3 separate regions of the Homo sapiens genome follow, and regions 2 and 3 are each linked to region 1. Evidence: promoter capture Hi-C in 16 types of primary human blood cells and fetal thymus (Javierre and others, 2016). All regions are on one chromosome and are shown on one strand. Each heading gives the region's core, a stretch centred on a gene start or on the middle of the fragment in contact. The rest is flanking DNA. Distances are from core to core; before and after follow the strand shown.

Region 1 (4,456 bases), core at 940-3,439:
TTTTTGTTTGTTTGTTTGATTGAGACAGAGTCTCAGTCTGTTACTTGTGCAGAGTGCAGTGGCTAGATCATAGCTCACTGTAGCCTTGACTTCCTGGGCTCAAGCAATCCTCCTGCGTCAGCCTCTCTGGTAGCTGGGACCGCAGGCACACACTGTCACAGCCGGCTAATTTTTTTTTTTTTTTTTTTGAGACAGAGTTTTGCTCTTGTTGCCCAGGCTGGAGTGCAATGGTGCGATCTGGGCTCACCACAACCTCCACCTCCCGGGTTCAAGCCATTCTCCTGTCTCAGCCTCCCAAATAGCTGGGATAACAAGCTCCTGCCACCACAACTGGCTAATTTTTGTATTTTTAGTAGAGATGGGGTTTCACCATGTTGGTCAGGCTGGTCTGGAACTCCTGACCTCAAGTGATCTGCCTGCCTTGGCCTCCCAAAGTGCTGGGATTACAGGCATGAGCCACTGCGCCCAGCCCCATGCAATTTAAATTAGAAATTAAAAAGTCATTCTGCGGTGTGGTGAATAGGTTGTAGAGGGGAAAGTGTAAAAGAGAATCAGCCAGGAAGCTGTTGAGGGAGGTCAAGGAAAGATGCTGGCTTCCACAGCAGACTAGCAGTGGAGAGCGAGAAGTGGGCTGATGTGGAACCTATTTCAGAGGGAAACCCAACAGGATTTGCTGATATAGTTCAGTGTTTAATCCTTCCTTATGACTGCAAAGGAGGAAAATAGGTTGTCCAAACATGACAAACACTGTTGGAAATTTTATGTCACTTTATTTATTCATTTTTTATTTTTATTATTTTTCTTTTTGAGACAGTCTCCCTCTGTCGCCCAGGCTGGAGTGCAGTGGCGTGATGTCGGCTCACCACAACCTCCACCTCCCGGGTTCAAGTGATTCTTCTGTCCCAGCCTCCCGAATAGCTGGGACTACAGGCGCACACCACGACACGCAGCTAATTTTTGTTATTTTTAGTAGGGCCGGGGGTTTCACCATGTTGGCCAGGATGGTGTTGAACTCCTGACTTCAAGTGATCCACCCGCCTCGGCCTCCCAAAGTACTGGGATTATAGGCGTGAGCCACCGTGCCCGGACTGATGTCACTTTAAATACTTTTTTTTTTATTGTAAATGTCATAAAAGACCACTTCGGAAAAATTGGAGGGAAAACACAAAAAGGAAATTAAAGTCACCCACCATACTATTAGCAGAGATCATGAGGATTTACCTGACGCTGTATTGTTCTAGGATTTCTCTACATATGTACAGTAAGAGACTAAGTTGGCATTTTCTTTTATTTTTTGAGGCGGGGTCTGGCTCTATCAACCAGGCTGGAGTGCGGTGGGGCGATCACGGCTAACTGCAGCCTCTGCCTCCCGGGCTCAGGCTGTCCTCCCATCTCAGCCTCCCTAGTAGCTGGGACCACAGGTGTGCACCATCACACCCAGCTAATTTTTGTATTTTTTGTAGAGGCAGGGTTTCACTATGTTGCCCAGGCTGGTGTCGAACTCCCGGGCTCAAGCAATCAACCCTCCTCAGCCTCCAAGAAGCTATGACTACAGGCACGCTCCACCACTCCCAGCTAACTTTTAAAATTTATTTTTGTATTTTTTGTAGAGACGGGGTCTCACTATGTTGCCTGTGTTTGTCTTGAACTCCTGGGCTCAAGTGATCCTCCTCCCTTGGCCTTCCAAAGTGCTGGGATTCCAAGCGGGGGCCACTTTGCCTGGCCTAAACTGGCATTTTCATACTCATAGTTGTGCAGTCTGATTTTTCACGTTATATTAGACCTAGACCCACCGCCAGTACTTTCATTCAAGGCCCTGTCATTTTTCGCCTCCGTGCAGGCCTCCTGCTGACAGGCTCCCCCGCTCTGCACAGCCCACCCGCTCTAAAATGCTTCCTCTAAAATGCACATCCGATGCTTCACAGTCCATGGTGAAGCCCCGTTGGTTGGGCACTGGGGTTGAGGGCAAGAGCAGTATCCTTGGGGGTTACCCGACCCGGCCACCCTCCCTCTGCGAATCGCAACATGGACGTTGTGCCACATCTCCTGGGGCTCTTGGGTCCAGGTAAGAAACGGGGCGGGAAGCCGTCCAGGCACCGCAGGGCCTCACTGGGGCCTCCAGGGACAAGGGGGAAGGCCCCGCCAGCGCAGGCGCGCTAAGGTCACAAGGCGCGCTTAGGGGCGGAGCCTCGCGGGGTGCGCCTCTGGGATAGGCGACCACGGTGTCTTCAAAAGCCCCGTCAGGGTTGGCTTCCTGGGGCCGGACCGACTGTGGGTCAGTTTGCACCAGCGCTCTGGAATCGAGTTACGCGCGAAAGGGCAGAGTTTCTGGAGGAAACCGCAGCCTCTCAACCGCTGACCGGGTCTCAGAAGGCCCCCGGCAGGGCCGCTTGGCGGGAACTGACCACGCGCCAGTCAGGCTCTCCAGGGACCTGCGCAGGCGCGTGTGGGCGGAGTCGTGCGCAGGGGGCGGGGCTTCGGGAAGGAGCCACAGAGAGGGCGGGGCGTAGGACCTGCGCTTCGGGGGTGGAGTCGGAGCGGCGCGGCGGCGGTCATGCGGGACGCGGATGCAGACGCAGGCGGAGGCGCTGACGGCGGGGATGGCCGGGGTGGCCACAGCTGCCGCGGGGGCGTGGACACAGCCGCAGCTCCGGCCGGTGGAGCTCCCCCAGCGCACGCGCCAGGTCCGGGCAGAGACGCCGCGTCTGCGGCCAGGGGGTCACGAATGCGGCCGCACATATTGTATCCTTTCCGAGCTGGGGGCTGCTTGCGGCGGAGCGAGGGCTGGACTCGGGGAGAAGGAAAGGAGGGCGGGCGGGGGGCCGACGGAAAGGGTAGCAGGGGGGGACCGGGGCTGGCGTATACGGTCAGAGGTGGTCGGAGGAGGGGAAGACATTGAAATGGAGGGAGAAGCTCTGCTAACGGTGGCCTGGGCGAGGTAAGGAGTGAAGGGGGTGACACTAGGCAGGGTGACCTGAGAGGGGGCTTCAGAGGAGCAAGAAGGCCTGAGACATAGGCAAGATCGTATCAGATGGCACCTTAACCGAATGACCCCCAGCACCCTCAGCGTGCCTTTCCCGACCCCCTTGGAGGCGGAAATCGCCCATGGGTCCCTGGCACCAGATGCCGAGCCCCACCAAAGGGTGGTTGGGAAGGATCTCACAGTGAGTGGCAGGATCCTGGTCGTGTAAGTTCTGAAAGGGACGGGGTTGGGGGAGGCGGCCCATGGAGACATGGGGGACATCCAAGGATGAGCCCTAAGGAGCGCCAGGTGCGCTGGGCCGGTCTCTGCCTGAGGGGCTGTGTAATGGCAGGGCTCCCAAGGGTTTGCTATATTGGGTGCCTGAGGGGCAGAGCGAGGGACCAGGAGTTGCCACCTCCAATTTGATTTTCTTTTCCCCTCACTTTTAGCCGCTGGAAAGCTGAAGACTGTCGCCTGCTCCGAATTTCCGTCATCAACTTTCTTGACCAGCTTTCCCTGGTGGTGCGGACCATGCAGCGCTTTGGGCCCCCCGTTTCCCGCTAAGCCTGGCCTGGGCAAATGGAGCGAGGTCCCACTTTGCGTCTCCTTGTAGGCAGTGCGTCCATCCTTCCCTAGGGCAGGAATTCCCACAGTTGCTACTTTCCTGGGAGGGCCTCATGTTTTATCTGGTTCTTAAATGTTTGTTACTACAGAAAATAAAACTGCGCTACTATTCCAAGTCTGAGTTTATTTGCAGCTGGGGCACCTCCCAATATTCTTGTTGTGCTTGGGTTGCTGGGGGGGGGGTTCTAGAATTCAGATATTCAAGGAGTACAAGGAAATTGAAGACAATTTAGGAAATGGAAGAAAATGAAAATCAATTGGGTTCTGTCATTCAGGATTAACTACTGTCAACATTTTGGAATACTTCCTCAGTTTTACAGTTGCACTTACATAGTAAATGTGTAACTGTAATATACACCACATAATATTTGCAAGTTTAGTGTTAAATTTTTTTCCTGATTTTTAAATCTAACATGAGCTTTTTTCCTCTAACGATCAGTGAAGAAAGTGCTGGGGCAATTGACTAGTGTCTGGGGCAAGGAGTTGGCTCCCTGGAAAATACAGTGTCTCCAGCCTTAGGGCTCTTTTATAGATTCTATCAGATTTTCTGAGAGTGAAAAGGAAGAGGTACAACTGCTTTTATTCTCAGAAAACAAGGAAATGGTTTGATCCTTTTGAGTCTTGCTTTGAAGATGTGCTGTGTGGGACCAGAGCAGCTCTTAACTGTAGGCTTGTTTCCCTCTATGGAGGCAACAAACACCATTCTGGGCACCCTGGCCAGTGCTGCCTAGGTGAACATGAGCTTCTCTATCCTGGTGGGTGGGGACAGCTGCTAGTCCCTGTCCTGCTTGCACACTGGAGTTACCGTTCATCCTCTCCTGCTGGGGTGATGGCCTTCCCTGGTCTTGGGTAGCTTCCTCACACGCCTGT
Region 2 (4,456 bases), core at 847-3,346, 380 kb after region 1:
GAGCTGCACTGCTGCCACCCTAGTTAAAGCTACCATCAACTCTTTCTCCTAGACTGTTCCAGGGCCTTGCAACTAGCCTTGTGCTGTAGTTTTGTTTCATCACGTCCAGTTCTCCACTCTACACCTGCAACATAGATCAGACAGCTCCTGGCTCAAAATCCTCTGAGGGCTTCTCATCTTAGAATAAACTCTCGGTTCTGGCCGGGTGCGGTGGCTTACGCCTGTAGTCCCAGCACTTTGGGAGTCCGAGGCGGGCGGATCACTTGAACTCAGGAGTTTGAGACCAGCCTGGGCAACATGGTGAACTCCCATCTCTATCAAAAATACAAAAACTTAGCCAGGCGTGGTGGTTCGCATCTGTGGTCCCAGCTACTTAGGACGCTGAGGAGGGAGGATCGCTTGAGCTCAGGGTGGACGTTGCAGTGAGCCAAGATTGCGCCACTGCACTGCAGCCTGGGTGACAGAATGAGACCCCATCCCCACCCCCCCCAAAAAAGAATGAACTCCCAGTTCTCATAGTGGCCCCAGCTGCCTTTCCAATCACATTCCCTACCACTCTCCAGCAACACTGACTTCCTCGTTAGTCCCCAACATGCCAGGCATAGTCTCTCCTCATGTCCTTTGAACTTGCCTGGAATGTTCTTTCCCCAGATATTCATATGAGGGAGTAAAATGAGGGTGAAAACCAGCAGATATCTAAATAGCACCCCCTTCACTTAGTTTATCTTTCTCAAAGCCCTTATCACTATGTGAAATGATATATTATACTTATTTGTATGCTAGTATGAATCTTCCCGGCAAGAATGTTAGTTTGCTGTCTGTTCAGTACCGTGCATCCAGAGCCTGGAAGAGTGCCTGGCACATAGCAGGTAGTCAATAAATGAATGGGGGCAAGCAGCCAAATCAGAATCAGGTTTTCTTGCTAAGCATAGAACTAACAGAAGGATCATTGAATGGATTGGATAATGACTGGCATCAGGGTAAGGTCCCCTTAACAAACACTCCTGTCCTGAACACCTGGTTAGCTAACAGTTTTCTCATACTCTTATTTTCCCAAAACACAATTGCTGGATCTCAGCTCCAAATCAACTCTTCTAGGAAAGTGAAAAATTGCTGGATCTCAGCTCCCAAATCATATCTTCCAGGCAGAGCTAACATTGCCCCTTATTCACACCTCCACCAAACCATCTGATCCAACAGTGACAGGTGTCACGAGGCCTTGGCATGCACTCTCTTCCCCCGCCAGAGTTCTGCGAAAGCCAGGGTTGCGATTTGTTGTCAGTTTATTCCCCGCCTCTATGAGAGTGTGAGCACTGGGCAGGCTCGGATGAAATAATGCATTGAGTAGGCCTCTGAAACCAAGGCCCCTCAGCTGGGGCAACGTCAGGCTCCAGGGTGGGCAACTTTGCTGCTTCTGCCGAAGATAGTGATATTGAGAAAATGTGGGTGCAATGAAACGCTTATTGCAGCGCACTCGGTGCATCTGTGGACAGAGGGTCAATCGCCCCTCAGAGCAGCGCAAACAGGCGTCCCAAGCCTAGGCCTTCACTTGCCCCAGCATCCGCAAGGGTCCATTAATCCTTAACATTCAAATTCCGCCCACTAAACCAGTCCCTCCGCGCCCAAGCCGCCTCTTTTCCCCAAACGACGGCCGAAAGCAGCCAATCAACAGCTGGAGGGGTCCGCCCCCTTTTCCCTGGCCGAAATGGACAGGAAATCTCGCCAATTGACGGCATCGCCGCTGAGACTCCCCCCTCCCCCGTCCTCCCCGTCCCAGCCCGGCCATCACAGCCAATGACGGGCGGGCTCGCAGCGGCGCCGAGGGCGGGGCGCGGGCGCGCAGGTGCAGCAGCGCGCGGGCCGGCCAAGAGGGCGGGGCGCGACGTCGGCCGTGCGGGGTCCCGGCGTCGGCGGCGCGCGCGCTCCCTCCTCTCGGAGAGAGGGCTGTGGTAAAAGCCGTCCGGAAAATGGCCGCCGCCGCCGCCGCCGCGCCGAGCGGAGGAGGAGGAGGAGGCGAGGAGGAGAGACTGTGAGTGGGACCGCCGTGGCCGCGGGCGGGGACCCTTGCCGGGGGGCGGGGGTCAGGGGCGGGACGTGGCGCGGGAGGGGCCCGCGGGGTCGGACGACACGGCTGGCGGATGGCGTCCCTCCTCTCTACCCTCCCCCTCCCGCCGCCGCCGGTGGCGACTCTCCCCTCGGCCCGTCACCCCTGCTCGCGGGTGACCGTCCTCGGCGCGGCCTCCCTGGAGCCGCCTTCGCCTGACGCCCCTCTTCCTCCCGCCCTCGACGCGCATCCCGGCCCCCGGCCCCGCGGGCGCCCCTGTCGCCGGGGCTTCGCCTGTCGGGGCTGCGCGCGCTCCTGCCCTTCTCGGGGCTTTGGGCCGCGGCGCCGTCGCGCGCCCGCGGCCCCGGCCTCTCCCTGGATCGCGCTCTCCCCCTCCCTCCCTCGCGCGCCCCCTCTCCCGTTACTCGGCCCCCCCACCGGCGCGCGTGCGCACTTCGCCTCCCGTCGGGAGAGTGCGCCACAAGGGCTCCTGAGCTCTCACCCCCATCTCTGGGCTTTGCCTCCCCCTCCTTCTCGCCCATTCCATGAATTTCTGCCCCCCGCTACCCCCCCGCGAGCGAGTAGGTCCACCGGCTCCTTTCCCCATCTAGCAGGAACAAGTAGGTGGGGATTATTATCCACAAAAGGGACTAGACATTGTGTTCTGGGTCCCACAACTCATCATAAAGAGGTGGTTATAGTTCCCATCAGGAGCCGTGGGTAGGGGACTGTGCGTCCAGCAGCACCCGAGGCTCTTCGGCGCCAGAGGCTCTAAGGTGCGAGCGTGTCCCCAGGGTGCTCAGAGGTTCTTTGGAGTGCTGTGGCCTCGGAATGTGAGCACCCTCCCATCCTACCCTCCCCTTCGCCGGCGATCTTCCAGTTACATAAGTGGAGTGGGACATAGTAGGTAACGGGCTCTCATCGCCCTGGAGCGCTCGGGATCACCGGTACCAGATGGGGCAAGTTCATCGCGACGCTGTGGCTCCTGTTAATTGTGCCTGAAAGGTTATCCTCTGTTCAGTTTGGTCATGACCGAATCACCCAAACTGAAACTCAGATGACTTTTATATGGCAGTGGCAATGTTTCTGTGGTTTTGCACTAAAGACTTAAGGTCATTATGAAGAGTGTAAAAGGATTGCTGTCGCAGGGGAGACCGTTTATGACATTGCTAAGTATGGACCCCGAGGGGGAAAAAGCTCATTCTGGAATTGCTCTGTGGCGGTTGCTTCTGTTGCGAGTGTGTTCGGGTGTGGGTTGGTCACAGCAGAAATGGGCTCCACCACAAAATTGATATTCCTGACTCATGGTCAGGCAGATGTGTGCTTCTGGTTATTTTTCCAGGAACAGGAATGGGCTCTGCCGAGCCTTTCACACGTTGTGTCTCTGCTGTGCGGGATCAGTACCCCAGACTGTGAGATAACAGGATCGAATTCAGGGGTTGGTTGGTGATCCAGGAACCATACCTACTTGGATGTGATACTGAGTGGCCTAGACGTTGTAGGACTCTCATAAGTTTTAGACATTTTGTTATACTGTAAAAATGAAGCATATACGGCCTCAGTAGTAACATTGCACTAATAGGTAATTATTACTCTAGAGAATTTTGGGTTCCATGGCTGGAATGTTCATCAGTATCTCAGCAATTTCAGTTAATAACCAGATTAAGCTGACCTCTTGAGTCTTTTGAAATCTGCTGGGTCCCTATAATAAGACAGGGTCTGGATTTTTTAATCTTTTGGGAATTTCCACCAAGGATTTAGGGAAATAGGCTTTTATGGGCTTTTCAGGATTTCTATTTCAAATCCCAATGAGGAAGTCTAGGAAACACTTGCTTTTATTTTCTTGCCTGAATATGTCAGAACCTTAAATCACCCAATCAATCTAGAAGTACTACAGTTGATTAAAGTAAGTCACCACAGGTCACCCATTCGTGGCAGGTCAGCTAGGTGGCTGATCACTGGAATACAGTCATATCCCCAGGCATACACACGAGCCTCACTTGACGATCCCAAAGTTTGTACATCTGAGCTTGAGACGTGACAAGTTGAGGTCTCTGCTTTGTTCTTCATAGTTGGCAGTTTGTCTCCTCGGGTGCCCCTCCGGTTAGCTGTTTATCATACGTCTAGCCCTATCAACAGTGCAGGCAGCTTCCAGAGTATAGTTTTCTCTGCAAAGTGCCTGGTGGAGGGGTACCTCCTTTTCCATTGTCCTAATGGCTCCACTGGGCTTCCATACCAGCCCTTTCCAGTGTCTTAACAGCTCAAAGAAACCCATCTGTGGCTTTCTTGTTAGCACTGGCCTATCACACCTTCCTATTGCCTGTTAACTAAAATTTTGCCTGGAATGCTTTAAGCTTAGAGTACTGGGTCTTTGTTTCACCCGATTGATAGGAGAGTGTCATGCAGTCAGCC
Region 3 (4,456 bases), core at 702-3,201, 360 kb after region 1:
CATGAGTCCCTCCCCTGTGACTGTGCCCGGACTGAGGGTCTTTGATGGCTACAGAGTTTCACGGTGTCCCTACAGAGTTGGTCAGCTCAGGAACCCCCAGGTAAGGACTGGCAGGCAGAGGGGCTGCTCCCTACTGTGCACAGCACTACAGAAAGTGTGGATGGAGGATGAGCTGCTATTCAGTGCTGAAGCTTGAAGCTCACACTGGCTCCCACAGCTTCTTCTGCCATCCCATCACCTTATTCCATGCAATCCAATGTATGTATTTTCCTGGGATTTCTCTAGTTATTCAGAGCAGAAGGACCAGCCTCAAGGAGTTCAAGTAGAGGTCAGTCTCATGGGGGCCAGACAGGCCGAGCTGGCCACCACTCACTCGCTTCCCTCCCAGTACAAGACTCAGACCCGCATGACCATGATTGAGATGTCTCGGGTGCCCTCGAGCCACCCCCCCCAGGAGCCAAATTCTTCCCAAGAGTCCATTATCCCGGGGACAGCTGTCTTGTGATCCTGTTCCCTGGAGAACACAGGCACGGAACAAGCCCTGATCCCCTTCGGTGACGACTCAGTAGTGTGCACAGCCAGGAAACCACAGAAGACAGGCAGAACCAGTTCTCCAGCTGTAGCTACAAGTTAACTATAAAAAGACCCCTGGGTCCACAGGGCAGGGCTACTCGGCTGGCTCTGGCCCAGGCTCTTGGGCACAATTCTGGCCACAGACGGGAAGCACAGAGAAGATAACCAATGGTGTCACAAACAGGTTTTCCAAGATTTCAATCTGGGAGACAGGACACTTCATCCAGGCTTCCGGTTTCAAAATTGGAAGACAAATGTCCTAAGGGGTCTTGTCAGTTTTGTATACTGGCACACAGCCATGATTTACAGAAACAGGACTTTTGGTCTCTCACCCTGGAAGACAAGAGGAACTAATCAAAATGGGCCAAAGGACCAGAAACTTCCAGTGGACATCACACTTGGACAGATGAGAGCTTAGAAAGCAGCTCAATTGCTGTGACCAAAGTTCGGCTCCCCCCTCAGTGACAGTCCTCCTGGGAAGGAAGGTAAGAGACTCAAGGAGCCTCTGGGGTCCTGCTGGGACTTCCCAGGCCAGGGCTGTGCTCCAGTGGCAGCTATCCTGAGGCCAGGGACATTGAGGGGAACCTCTAAACAATGGAAACAGCCAAAGAGATGATGAGCGTAGGTCCAAGTGCAGCCAGGCAGCCTGAAAAGAGAAAGGGAAGGTGGAGTTCTCAGGGACAGGCTTCAGAGGAAGAGGAGGGTTTAAATGAGTCTCTTCAGTAGGGCCAAAGCAAGTTCATTTCCCAAGGGCTAAAAGTCTGCCATGTTTTTATGAGTTGTTTGGGTTAAACCTGGGTCATGTTGACCTAGATACATCTCCAAGAAACACCAGATATGGGAATCTTAATAAGAAAGAATGAGCAACATGGTTGTGATCTTCCAACAGAAATACAGTGCAAGAGGCCGGGTGCGGTGGCTCACGCTTGTAATCCCAGCACTTTGGGAGGCCGAGGCGGGTGGATCATGAGGTCAGGAGTTCAAGACCAGCTTGGCCAACATGGTGAAACCCTGTCTCTACTAAAAATACAAAAATTAGCCGGGCGTGATGGTGGGCGCCTGTAATCCTAGCTACTTGGGAGGCTGAGGCAGAGAACTGCTTGAACCCAGGAGGCGGAGGTTGCAGTGAGCCAAGATCGCACCACTGCTCTCCAGCCTGGGCGACAGAGCGAGACTCCATCTCCCCTTCCCCCCTCCCCCTAAAAAAGAAATACAGTGCAAGAAAGTCCAGTTTTTTTCTCATAACAATGTTCTGCTTAAGTTTGGAGAAAATATGCATTTTCTTAAGCTTGAAATAAAGTTTGGCTACTTTTGGATGGGGTCTTTGTGTCATTCCTACGTCAGACACCAATCTATACTGTTGCCAGGAGGATGGCGACATGATTGATGGGAAAAGGAAAAACTTCACACAGGTGACTCCTTAGAGCAGGGAGCAAAGCAGTGACGCCTGTCAGAGGCAGAAGCTTCCCTGGCAGGACTAATGACATTTACAGTCCTCATTGAGAGAAACAAGAGAAAAGGCACATGGAAACTATACTATGAATGGAAAATGGCTATAACCACAGATGCAGACAGGATTTTAAAGTAATGGCTATTGTGAATAACTTTGTGCCAATACATTTGAAAATACAGTTGAAATGAACAAAGTCCTAGAAAAAGAAATTACCAGTATTGACTCAAGAAAAAGCAAAGACCCTAAATAGTCATATAATTATAAATTTTTTGTTAGTAATAAAATATCTTCCGTTCAAACCAAACTCTAGGCCTAGATGACTTCATCAGCAAGATCTATCAAATATTCAAGAAGCAATAGTTCTAATTTTACACAAACTCTTTCAGAGAATTAAGAAAAAGAGGCTCCACTCTTGTTAGAAGGCAAACATAACCTTGAAACCAAAACCTGTCAAGGACATTATGAGAAAGAAAATTATAAGCCAACTTCACTTGTAGGCAGAGATTCAGAAATCCCAAACAGAATACTAGCAATATGTAAAAAAGATAATACATGGTGACTGGACTGGGCACGGTGGCTCACGCCTGTAATCCCAGCACTTTGGGAGGCTGAGGCGGGTGGATCACCTGAGGTCAGGAGTTCAAGACCAGCCTGGCCAACATGGCGAAATCCAGTCTCTACTAAAAATACAAAAAATTAGCTGGGCCTGGTGGCGTGCACCTATAATCCCAGCTACTCGGGAGGGTCAGGCAGGAGAATCGTTTGAACCCAGGAGGTGGAGGTTGCAGTGAGCCGAGATTGTGCCACTGCACTCCAGCCTGGGAGACAGAGCGAGATGCTGTCTCAAAAAAAACCAAACAAAAGGAAAAAAAAAGATAATACATGGTGACCAAGATGTGTTTATCTCAGGAGTGCAAAGTTAGTTTAATAATATAAAATCATTTATTGTAATTAACCAAATTAATGTTAAAGAAGAAAAATTACATGATCAGCAGGGCATGGTGGCTCATGTCAGTAAGCCTAGCACTTTGGGAGGCTAAGGCAGGCAGATTGCTTGAACTCAGGAGTTTGAGACCAGCCTGGTTAACATGGTGAAACCTCATCTCTACAAATAATAGACACACACACACACACACACACACACACACACACACACACACACAAATTGCCGGTGGTGGCACATGCCTGTCATCCCAGCTACTTGGGGAGCTGAGGCAAGAGGATCGCTTGAGCCCAGGAGGTTGAGGCTGCAGTGAGCTGAGATCATGCCACTGCACTCCAGCCTGGGTGATAAAGCGAGACCCTGTCTCAAAAAAAATTAAAAAAAATACCAATTACATGATCACCACAATAAGCACAGAAAAAGCACTGGATAAAATTCAATATCCATTCATGATTACAAAGAAAAGTCAGGAGCCTAGGAATTAAAATGAACTTCCTTAGCAAAGGATTTATTAAAATAGTTATAGCATCATCATATTTAATGACAAAAAGTTGAAAGCATCCCCTGGAGATCATAAACAAGAAAAGGCCAGCGCAGTGGCTCACGCCTGTAATCCCAGCACTTTGGGAGGCTGAGGCGGGTGGATCAGTTGAGGCCAGGTGTTCGAGACCAGCCTGGCCAACATGGTGAAACCCCGCCTCTACTAAAAATACAAAAGTTAGCTGGACGTGGTGGCACACGCCTGTAATCCCAGCTACTTGGGAGGCTGAGGCAGGAGAATCACTTGAACCCGGGGGGTGGAGGTTGCAGTGAGCCGAGATCTCGCCACTGCACTCCAGCCTAGGTGACAGATTGAGACTGTCTGAAAAAAAAAAAAAAAGAGAAAGAAAGAGAAACTGTAAAAAAAGGAAAAGGAAGGAAGCTGTACCTCTACTTCACACCATTACAAAAATCAATTTTACACAGATTGAAAACCTAAATATGAAGGGCAAAACGATGAATCTTTAAGAATAAAATGAGAATAGCTCCATTACTAGGGGTAAGCAAATGGTTGCATGGGTGTTCAATTTAGAATTGTTCTTTAAACTGCGCAATATATTTGATGCACTCTATTTCAAACAGCCTTATCAAGGTATAGCCTACATAAAACAAAGTGTGTGTTGCTTAAAGTATACAGAGGCTGGGTGTGGTGGCTCACACCTGCAATCTCAGCACTTTGGGAGGCTGAGGCAGGAGGATTGCTTGAGGCCAGGAGTTTGAGACCAGCCTGGGCAACAAACATAGGGAAGCCTAGTTGCTACAAAAAATTTAAAAACTAGCCAGGCATTGTGGCATGCACTTGTGGCCCCAGCAACTTGGAAGGCCAAGGCAGGAGGATCACTTGAGCCCAGGAGTTCAAGGTTACGGTAAACTATGATTGCCACTGTACTCCAGCCTGGGAGACAGAGTGAGACCTATCTCTAAAATAATGATAATAATAAAGTATA

What was found. The method cuts DNA at HindIII sites, captures the fragments that hold promoters and counts their contacts. A CHiCAGO score of 5 or more calls a contact.
Region 2: a contact is called between a fragment that was not itself captured here and the fragment with the promoter of LAGE3 in region 1, in 3 of 17 cell types (fetal thymus, activated CD4 T cells and naive CD8 T cells). The highest score is 7.1, in fetal thymus.
Region 3: a fragment that was not itself captured here is called in contact with the fragment with the promoter of LAGE3 in region 1 in 1 of 17 cell types (activated CD4 T cells); the score reaches 5.1 in activated CD4 T cells.

Annotation. Positions count from the first base shown.
Region 1 is chrX:154,477,014-154,481,469 of GRCh38, reverse strand. It overlaps LAGE3 (L antigen family member 3), which reads left to right and starts at 2,189. Exons shown (of 3, transcript NM_006014.5): 1 at 2,189-2,742; 2 at 3,059-3,187; 3 at 3,412-3,695. The coding sequence starts at 2,555. The coding sequence ends at 3,526. PLXNA3 (plexin A3) reads right to left here. Exons shown (of 33, transcript NM_017514.5): 33 at 3,691-4,456. RefSeq lists an enhancer at 1,815-2,314 and a silencer at 2,576-2,795. The HindIII fragment of the contact is 14,076 bases long and covers 1-4,456 here.
Region 2 is chrX:154,095,177-154,099,632 of GRCh38, reverse strand. It overlaps MECP2 (methyl-CpG binding protein 2), which reads left to right and starts at 1,916. Exons shown (of 3, transcript NM_001110792.2): 1 at 1,916-2,029. The coding sequence starts at 1,968. RefSeq lists silencers at 1,631-1,990, 2,076-2,314, 2,291-2,350, 2,411-2,490 and an enhancer at 2,811-2,900. The HindIII fragment of the contact is 4,609 bases long and covers 1-4,400 here.
Region 3 is chrX:154,118,256-154,122,711 of GRCh38, reverse strand. No RefSeq gene overlaps it. Among named protein-coding and RNA genes, the nearest start is that of MECP2, 23 kb to the right of the region's middle. The HindIII fragment of the contact is 175 bases long and covers 1,864-2,038 here.